3 separate regions of the Homo sapiens genome follow, and regions 2 and 3 are each linked to region 1. The links are contacts of gene promoters, found by promoter capture Hi-C in blood cells and fetal thymus (Javierre and others, 2016). All regions are on one chromosome and are shown on one strand. Each heading gives the region's core, a stretch centred on a gene start or on the middle of the fragment in contact. The rest is flanking DNA. Distances are from core to core; before and after follow the strand shown. Region 1 holds the start of ROCK1 (Rho associated coiled-coil containing protein kinase 1). Region 2 overlaps ROCK1 (Rho associated coiled-coil containing protein kinase 1). Region 3 has its middle 180 kb from the start of ROCK1.

The links. The method cuts DNA at HindIII sites, captures the fragments that hold promoters and counts their contacts. A CHiCAGO score of 5 or more calls a contact.
Region 2: a fragment that was not itself captured here is called in contact with the fragment with the promoter of ROCK1 in region 1 in 4 of 17 cell types (total B cells, naive B cells, naive CD4 T cells and 1 more); the score reaches 6.5 in total B cells.
Region 3: a contact is called between a fragment that was not itself captured here and the fragment with the promoter of ROCK1 in region 1, in 3 of 17 cell types (naive B cells, total B cells and naive CD4 T cells). The highest score is 5.4, in naive B cells.

What each region holds. Positions count from the first base shown.
Region 1 is chr18:21,109,920-21,113,416 of GRCh38, reverse strand. ROCK1 (Rho associated coiled-coil containing protein kinase 1) reads left to right here and starts at 1,604. Exons shown (of 33, transcript NM_005406.3): 1 at 1,604-2,599. The coding sequence starts at 2,507. RefSeq lists enhancers at 1,006-1,065, 1,096-1,315, 1,415-1,709, 1,363-1,951 and a silencer at 1,356-1,745. The HindIII fragment of the contact is 6,843 bases long and covers 1-3,497 here.
Region 2 is chr18:20,966,382-20,969,873 of GRCh38, reverse strand. It overlaps ROCK1 (Rho associated coiled-coil containing protein kinase 1), which reads left to right. Exons shown (of 33, transcript NM_005406.3): 24 at 666-759; 25 at 1,014-1,102; 26 at 1,934-2,122; 27 at 2,798-2,957. Among named protein-coding and RNA genes, the nearest start is that of ROCK1, 140 kb to the left of the region's middle. The HindIII fragment of the contact is 451 bases long and covers 1,201-1,651 here.
Region 3 is chr18:20,932,802-20,935,932 of GRCh38, reverse strand. No RefSeq gene overlaps it. Among named protein-coding and RNA genes, the nearest start is that of ROCK1, 180 kb to the left of the region's middle. RefSeq lists enhancers at 1-391, 392-997, 998-1,605, 1,606-2,211, 2,212-2,819 and 1 more. The HindIII fragment of the contact is 5,772 bases long and covers 1-3,131 here.

The DNA.
Region 1 (3,497 bases), core at 355-2,854:
CCCACATATATTTCTAGTAGTTCTGCCAGGTTGGTTATCACTTCCACTTATATTTATCAGTGTCACTCATGTATTGTCTTAACTACTTGTATTTTTTCGTATGTGTCTAAATGGAAAGCAACATAATGTTCACGGTTCTCTGAGAAACAACAAAATTCCTAATACCTAAAAATGGTAATAATAATAAAAAAAAGACAAGCAGGGTTTAGGAAATTTATTTTAGGGCAACTGCCTGATTTATTTTAAGCCCTATGCTTAAAAATAAGTCTAATTCACATGACTTAAAATGCTGGAGCCAAGAAAAGTCGCTGCAAAGGCATTTAATGAAATACCTGGTTTGTCTAGTTGTCTTTGTTATGATTTTTGTATAAACCAAGAACGTCCTATCTTGATATATATAGTGGATTTTATATCTAAATATTTCTTGTATTTAATAAATTGAAAATAGAAATAGACATTTTTTCAAACAGTGTAAGATTTTCCTAACCTCTGACTCACATCGTAAGGCTGGTGGACTGTTCAGATGCTGTACGATGCTTTTTACTCCGATGCTTTTTGGTTCATCTGTAGCATTTTCCATCATGGGGTAAAAGATCCACATTTTCTATTTCTAGTGATCCTTAATTTGGCTTCTGAGCAAAAATAAAGTTTGATGAGGAATAAATTAAGGTAGATTTCCTGCTGAAACCAGTGAAGAACATAACTTTATCAGCGGGGGTGAGTGACAAGTCTTTCACCTTTCCTCACACCACAGTCAACGAAGTAACGGAACTAGGAGAAATGCCCATTATTCTCATGTCCTACATTAGTTCTGATAAAAATCACAATTAAGTTTCACTGAATGTTTTGACATTGAAACGGCAGCATTACACGTCCAGGAGAGAACTACAGTAGGGGTGTTATGAGAACTAACACGAACGACTTAAAAATATTGATTTTTTTCTACGAGATTATTTTCCTTTAAAAAAATTAAATTGAGCTTGACTTCTATTGACTGTATCTTCCGGAGTCAGTATTTTATGGCTCCCCTGACACACACGCCTGGCGTGGGAGGGCTGAGCGCTGCAGCGCTTCGGAACTTTCCCAGTGAATCGTAAATGGGTTCAACGCCGGGGCTCGCGGAGGGCTGTCCATGGAGTACCACTGAAAACCAAACGCCACTGGTGCTCAATGCTGGTACCTGCCGACGAAAAGGCTTCTTGCCTAAAAAAGAACCTATTGCCCCACCCTAACAGCAACAAGGAGAACAAGCACTCTCTCCTCGTCAGAAGTCTCTGGACTGGCTGCAACCCAGAGGAAACAGAGCTGGGGCATCTGCCGGGACAGCGATCAGAAGCAGCCAGAGCTCCGCCTCCGTCCGGACCTCCAAGGCCGCTCCAGAGCCCTGCATGGCTCCTCAGAGCCGGCCAAGGCGAGAACCTTGCCGGCAGCTGCTTACCCGCACTCGGCTCCTCCCAGCGGTCCGCCTTCTCCACCGCCTGCCCGCAAGGCCCCGCCCACCTCACCGCCCCGCCCCACCCCACCCTGCGGAGGCGACAGAGTGCGCGCGCGCGCGCGGGGTCCCGGCTGGTTCCCCTTCCGAGCGTCCGCGCCCCGCATGCGCAGTCTGCCCCGGCGGTCTCCGTTTGTTTGAACAGGAAGGCGGACATATTAGTCCCTCTCAGCCCCCCTCGCCCCACCCCCCAGGCATTCGCCGCCGCGACTCGCCCTTTCCCCGGCTGGGACCGCAGCCCCTCCCAGAAGCTCCCCCATCAGCAGCCGCCGGGACCCAACTATCGTCTTCCTCTTCGCCCGCTCTCCAGCCTTTCCTCTGCTAAGTCTCCATCGGGCATCGACCTCGCCCTGCCCCACCGGACACCGTAGCAGCAGCCCCAGCAGCGACGGGACAAAATGGGAGAGTGAGGCTGTCCTGCGTGGACCAGCTCGTGGCCGAGACTGATCGGTGCGTCGGGCCGGGCCGAGTAGAGCCGGGGACGCGGGGCTAGACCGTCTACAGCGCCTCTGAGCGGAGCGGGCCCGGCCCGTGGCCCGAGCGGCGGCCGCAGCTGGCACAGCTCCTCACCCGCCCTTTGCTTTCGCCTTTCCTCTTCTCCCTCCCTTGTTGCCCGGAGGGAGTCTCCACCCTGCTTCTCTTTCTCTACCCGCTCCTGCCCATCTCGGGACGGGGACCCCTCCATGGCGACGGCGGCCGGGGCCCGCTAGACTGAAGCACCTCGCCGGAGCGACGAGGCTGGTGGCGACGGCGCTGTCGGCTGTCGTGAGGGGCTGCCGGGTGGGATGCGACTTTGGGCGTCCGAGCGGCTGTGGGTCGCTGTTGCCCCCGGCCCGGGGTCTGGAGAGCGGAGGTCCCCTCAGTGAGGGGAAGACGGGGGAACCGGGCGCACCTGGTGACCCTGAGGTTCCGGCTCCTCCGCCCCGCGGCTGCGAACCCACCGCGGAGGAAGTTGGTTGAAATTGCTTTCCGCTGCTGGTGCTGGTAAGAGGGCATTGTCACAGCAGCAGCAACATGTCGACTGGGGACAGTTTTGAGACTCGATTTGAAAAAATGGACAACCTGCTGCGGGATCCCAAATCGGAAGTGAATTCGGATTGTTTGCTGGTGAGTAGCGCTGTTCTCTTTTGCTTGTCTGGGGTTTTGCATGTCTTTCCTTCCTCTTGCATTAGTCTGGTTCGCTGCAAAAGTCTCAGGTGTGCATAATCGTCTTGGAAAATGCTAGATTTCTGTTTCCTGAAGAATCTTGGAGTACCATTAACATCTCATGGTGTGGTCCTATTTGCCATTTGACTGGCTCTGTACTAACTACTCTGAACTTTTAATTCTGACTCAGTTCATGAGTACCCGAAAGATACTTACAAACTGCTATTGCAGGCATCCTATAAAAAGTTATCACGTCAGAGTTACTGCAATGTATACAGTTTGTTGAATGGCGATCGTAGTAATTAATGTTAATCTTTCTGATCCGTTTGACAGTTAAATTGGAAAGACTACTTTGCATTTTTTTTCCTTTTTGCGATTTAGCTCCTAGGGGTTTAGTTTTTAGCCTTGAAAATGATAACGGAGAATTGCTATTGAGGAAGTGATTTTTGAGCCAAAATTTCATAGGTGATTTGAGTTTGAAGGAACTTTTTGCTAAACTATTGTAAAAAACCAAGATAATTGGTCATAGGTAATTACAGTGTTAACTTATTTTATTGTATTATTGGTTACAAAAGTACGTACCATACAGTTATTGTAACTGTCTTTTTGGTGGTGTGGCACTTAACATTGTCACTTGTAAAACATTCTAAAGAGGGTTTTATGACATGAAAAACCACAATCCCATTTTAAAAATAGTTAAGTGGTTGATAATACAGTTATCTGTAAATAATTGGAATTCTTAGGTTTGATACATTTCCTCTGTAAATGTATCAAAGTTGTTCAGAGTTTCTGAACAACTAAGGGTTATATAATATTTCTTGGTCCAAACAAAACCACATAATCTCTAAAATAAGGTTTC
Region 2 (3,492 bases), core at 177-2,676, 140 kb after region 1:
AGAATCATGCGACTAAAAAGAGGAGTTAGATTTTTCTTGTAAAGCCACTATCAGTCACTCTGGGTTCCAGTTTTGCCCCTAAGAAGTTATATGGTCTTGGCAAAGTTGGCTTTAACTTCTCTAAGCCTCAGATTTCTCATCTATAAAATAGAAATAGTAATATCTCTTCCACATGATTGTTATGAGGATTAAATAAGACAGTAGACATAGAATGATTAATATAACATATAACAAGTAATGATTATATATTACTAAAAGTAATCTATAAATAAATGTTTTTATTATCGTTTTCATCATCAATATTCAGATAAAGATATTGAAGTCCAGAAAAAGTATGACTTGCTCGGGGTCACATACTAGGTTAATCGCAGAGCTAGAACTAAATACAAATTTCTTAGTTTGCAATCTAGTTATCTTGCCATTACATATGCCCCCCTTTTGTTCATACATATATCTATATGCATACAATGAAATAATTTTTGGATGCTGTTAACTACTTTTAAATATTTTTGATGTAATTACATATTTTAAGCTGGAAACCAGACATTTGCTGTAGTTCAGCAGTGTCTGACCTGTCTTTATCTAGCAGTATATTTAAAGGTTACTGCCTGAAATACGAGAATAGCAAAGAGGCTGGAGCTTAAACTTTTGTGTGCTTTGTTTAGCTTGAAGAAGCAAACAGCATGCTAACCAAAGATATTGAAATATTAAGAAGAGAGAATGAAGAGCTAACAGAGAAAATGAAGAAGGCAGAGGAAGGTATGTAGAATTTTTAAAAAATCATCATGTTAAATCAAATTCAGTGATTTATCTTTACCTATGTTGTGTTAGGTTTCTAAGATACCTGTTTTCATATATTAAGTAACTTCTGTAGCCTTAAGAATTATCTTAATGAAGTTACTGAAAGTTACTATGTAATGTATACTTATTTGAATAATTAAAGACATTGTTAGTTTGAAATGCAGAAATTAAATTAATACCATACAATAACATTTAATATAATTTGTTGACAGAATATAAACTGGAGAAGGAGGAGGAGATCAGTAATCTTAAGGCTGCCTTTGAAAAGAATATCAACACTGAACGAACCCTTAAAACACAGGTATACATGCTTTCGATCTTTTCCACATGTTCATTTTTGAGTTAATCATTGCTCTTTATGCACTTTTTCCTAAAACCAAGGCTTATAAGGTTCAAGCTTTTCATCAGAACAAATAAATTCTCTCCCCGCTAACTATAAAAAACTTATTTGTGAAATAGAATTTCAAGGCCAGGCGCGGTGGCTCATGCCTGTAATCCCAACACTTTAGGAGGCTGAGGCCAGCAGAACACTTAAGGCCAGGAGTTCGAGAGCAGCCTGGCTGACATCGAAACCCCAGTCTCTACTAAAAATACAAAAATTAGCCGGGCGTGGTGGTGCGCTCCAGTAATACCAGCTAGTCAGGTGGCTGAGGCACGAGAATTGCTTGAACCCAGGAGGCAGAGGTTGCAGTGAGCAAAGATCATGCCACTGCATGCCAGCCTGGGCGACAGAGCAAGACCCAGTCTCAAAAAAAAAAAAAGAAATAGGATTTCAGTTAAGAAAGCTAACTTGCCTAGTAATATTGTATAGTTGTAGAAGATAAGAGTATGTGGCCAAGGCATAGAAGCTTTATTTGCTAGTACCCAACATCAGAGTAGGATTAGCATACTCTTGATTCAGTACTGGGTTGTAAAGTTAACCAAAGAAAGGCTCCTGGTTCTTACATTTAAGTAGTGTGATAAGTCAGTGTTAGTTACTTGTGCTACCAGTTATCATGTCTCAACCATCATGAAGTTGTCCTAATTTTCATACACACAGAAAGTCCTGCTTCCTGATTTTGAAGAAAAAAATACATTTTAGTATTAAATTGGATGACTACACTATTGATCTTTATTAATAATATTTTAATAGGCTGTTAACAAATTGGCAGAAATAATGAATCGAAAAGATTTTAAAATTGATAGAAAGAAAGCTAATACACAAGATTTGAGAAAGAAAGAAAAGGAAAATCGAAAGCTGCAACTGGAACTCAACCAAGAAAGAGAGAAATTCAACCAGATGGTAGTGAAACATCAGAAGGAACTGAATGACATGCAAGCGGTAAGGTTTCTGTGTGTGTATGGATATGAGTGTGAAGGATTATTTTCTTAAATTATTTCTGTATATACTTGTTATCTATTTATCTTGTTTAGATTGGGAACAATCAAGGGTTCTGCCTGTTTGGTTTCAGACTGAAATTGGGATATGGCTGTTATAATATTAACTATAATTGGGGTAGAGGTTTTGAAGTATTGTAGCTTATTTATTTTCTCTAGTCAAGACTCACTTTTTTGAAATCAAAATAACAAGCTTAATTTTTTGATACCCCTTGGCTTGTTAATAGAACAAAATTGAGAACCTGGTCTCGGGCACTTAGATCTAAGCTTTTTAGCTCCATCAGTTATGGTTTTCTGAAGTTTTCTATACCTTTAAAGCTACTTCATTTGGAGCCAGAAAAGCATTTTCTTTTGTTGTAACTTTTTTGTTTTGATGGCTTATGTTTGAAAACAAAAACAAAAACTCTTTTTAAGGCAAGGAGAAAAGGAATTTGTCCGAGCATTGTATTACTGAGAAAGAACTTGACATTTCTGTAGTGTATCAAAATCTGTGGTAGCAAACATTCATGAAGTTTACTGTACATTTTTAGTATTAGCAATTTAAATTATCATATTTCAATTAGTAATGTTGGAAATTGTTTTAGCTTGATTATATTATCTTGATACTTTTCAAAATTAGCAATTGGTAGAAGAATGTGCACATAGGAATGAGCTTCAGATGCAGTTGGCCAGCAAAGAGAGTGATATTGAGCAATTGCGTGCTAAACTTTTGGACCTCTCGGATTCTACAAGTGTTGCTAGTTTTCCTAGTGCTGATGAAACTGATGGTAACCTCCCAGGTAAGAATAATTCTGTATCATTCAAACATGTATAAATGTCATGGAAATTAGTGTATATTTCTTTCATTTGGTTTTCTACCTCCTTGTCATTTTGTCCATGGATTCCTAAGAAGGAATTCTTATTTCTGATAGCCAAGGCCTGATGATGATTATACACTTGGTGTATTTTGTGGAGTAGAGCAGTTGTAAGCAATCTTAGGCTATTTAAATAGACCTAAGAAGCTTTACCTGAATAAAAACCATAAGAGGTTTATGAACCTATTTTGAGCAGCCTAAGTCCACAGTGAGAGTCAAAGCTGCTACTACACATCTCACTATTTTTTAAAAGTTGTACATTTTTGTGAGTAATAGCTCTTTAACATTTTATGTATTCTTGTGCTAAAACTAAGAACTGTACTTTATCATCAGAACCACAGCAGCTACATATAGAACCCTATCTAGTGGAGTAGTGATCAACTTCAGTCAGACTTTGCTAAGTTTTAAGTTTGGGGAAATAGATAAAATGGGTTGGGCAGTGCAGTAAGAGGCCGGGGGT
Region 3 (3,131 bases), core at 122-2,621, 180 kb after region 1:
ACAAACATCACAATCCAGTTTGTGAGAATGCTTCTGTCTAGTTTTTATGGGAAGATATTTCCTTTTGCACCGTAAGCGTCAAAGCGCTCCAAGTGTCCACATCCAGATACTACGGAAAGAGGGTTTCAAACCTGCTCTATGAAAGGGAATGATCAACTCTGTGACGTGAATGCAGACATCATAAAGCAGTTTCTGAGAATGTTTCTGTCTAGGTTTTCTATGTTGATACTCCCGTTTCCAACGAAATAGTGAGAGCTATCCAACTATCCACTTACATATTCTACAAAAAGAGTGTTTCCAAACTGCTGTATCATAAGAAAGGATGAACTCTGTTAGTTGAGGACACACATCACAAAGAAATTTCTGAGAATGCTTCTGTCTAGTTTTTATGGGAAGATATTTCCGTTTTCAACATAGGCCTGAAATCGCTCGAAATGTCCATGTCCACATACTACAGAAATAGTGTTTCAAACCTGCTCTATGAAAGGGAATGATCAACTCTGTGACGTGAATGCAGACATCATAAAGCAGTTTCTGAGAATTTTTCTGTCTAGGTTTTCTATGTTGATACTCCCGTTTCCAATGAAATAATGAGAGCTATCCAACTATCCACTTACATATTCTACAAAAAGAGTGTTTCAAAACTGCTGTATCATAAGAAAGGATGAACTCTGTTAGTTGAGGACACACATCACAAAGAAATTTCTGAGAATGCTTCTGTCTAGTATTTATGGGAAGATATTTCCGTTTTCAACATAGGCCTGAAATCGCTCGAAATGTCCATGTCCAGATACTACAGAAATAGTGTTTCAAACCTGCTCTATGTAAGGGAATATTCAACTCTGTGACTTAAAAGCAAACATCACAAAGAAGGTTCTGAGAATGCTGCTGTCTACTTTTTATATGTAATCCCGTTTCCAAGGAAATCCTCAGAGCTATCCTAATATCCACTTGCAGATTCCACAACAAGAGCTTCTCAAAACTGACCTATAAATAGAAAGGTTCAACTCTGTTAGTTGAGTACATATATCCCAAAGAAGTTTCTTAGAATGCTTCTGTCTAGTTTTTATGGGAAAACATTTCCTTTTTCACCAAAGGCGTCAAAGCGCTAAAAATGTCCACTTCCAGATACTACAAAGTGTCTCAAACCTGCTCTAAGAAAGGGAATGTTCAACTCTGTGACTTGAGTGCAGATATCACAAAGCAGTTTCTGAGAGTGCCTCTGTCTAGATTTTATATGAAGGTATTCCCATTTCCTATGAAATCGTTAGAGCTATCCAAATATCCACTTGCATATTCTACAAAAGGAGTGTTTCGAAACTGCTGTATCAAAAGAAAGGTTGAACTCTGTTAGTTAAGGACACACATCACAAAGAAGTTTCTGAGAATGCTTCTGTGTAGATTTTACATGAATATAGTCCCGTTTCCAAGGAAATCCTTAAAGCCATCCAATTATCCACTTGCAGATTTTACAAAAAGAGTGTTTCAAAACTGCTGTGTAAAAAGAAACGTTCAACTCTGTCAGTTGAGTACACACATCACAAACAAGTTTCTGAGAATGCTTCTGTCTAGTTTTTATGGGAAGATATTTCCTTTTTCTCCAAAGTCGGCAAAGCGCTCCAAAGATCCATTTCCAGATACAACAAAAAGAGTGTTTCAAACCAGCTCTATGAAAGGGAATGTTCAACTCTGTGACTTGAATGCAGATATCACAAAGTACCTCCTGAGAGTGCTTCTGTCTAGATTTTATATGAAGATATTCCCGTTTCCAAGGAAATCGTCAGAGCTATCCAAATATCCACTTGCAGATTCTGCAAAAAGAGTGTTTCCAAACTGCTGTATCCAAAGACAGGTTGTACTCTGTTAGGTGGGGACACATATCACAAAGAAGTTTCTGAGAATGACTTTTCCGTTTCCAATGAAATCTACTTAAAGGTATCCAAATATCCGCTTGCAGATTCTACAAAAAGAGTCTTTCAAAACTGCCCTGTAAATAGAAAGGTTCAACTCTGTTAGTGGAGGACATACATCACAAAGCAGTTTGTGAGAAGGCTTCTGTCTAGTTTTTAAGGGAAGATATTTCCTATGTCACCGTACGCGTCAAAGCGCTCAAATGTCCACATCCAGATACTACAGAAACGGTGTTACAAACGTGCTCGATGAAAGAGAATGTTCAATTCTGTGACTTGAATGCAGACATCACAAAGCAGTTTCTGAGAGTGCCTCTGTCTAGATTGTATATGAAGATATTCCCGTTTCCAACGAAATCTTCAAAGTTATCGAAATATCCGCTTGCAGATACTACAAAAAGAGTGTTTCTAAACTGTTGTATCAAAAGAAACGTTCAACTCTGTTAGTTGAGGACACCCATCACAAATAAGTTTCTGAGAATGCTTCTGTCTACTTTTTATGGGAAGTTATTTCCTTTTTCAACATAGGCCTGACATCGCTCGAAATGTCCACTTAGAGATACTACAGAAAGAGTGTTTCAAAACTGCTCTATGGAAGGGAATGTTCAACTCTGTGACTTAAAAGCAAACATCACAAGGAGCTTCTGAGAATGCTGCTGTCTATATTTTATATGTAATCCCGATTCCAACGAAATCCTCAGAGCTATCCAAATATCCACTTGCAGATTCCACAAAAAGAGCATTTCAAACTGATCTATAAAGAGAAAGGTTCAACTCGGTTAGTTGAGTGCATATATCACAAAGAAGTTTCTTAGAATGCTTCTGTCTAGTTTTTATGGGAAGACATTTCCTTTTTCACCAAAGGCGTGAAAGCGCTCCAAATGTCCACTTCCAGATACTACAAAAAGTGTGTTTCAAACGTGCTCTAAGAAAGGGAATGTTCAACTCTGTGACCTGAATGCAGATATCACAAAGTAGCTCCTGAGAGTGCTTCTGTACAGATTTTATATGAAGACATTCCCGTTTCCAACGAAATCGTTAGAGCTATCCAAATATCCACTTGAAGATTCTACAAAAAGAGTGTTTCCAAACTGCTGTATCAAAAGAAAGGTTGAACTCTGTTAGTTGAGGACACACATCACAAAGAAGATTCTGAGAATGCTTCTGTGTAGATTTTACATGAATATAGTCCCGTTTCCAACGAAATCCTTAAAGTCATCC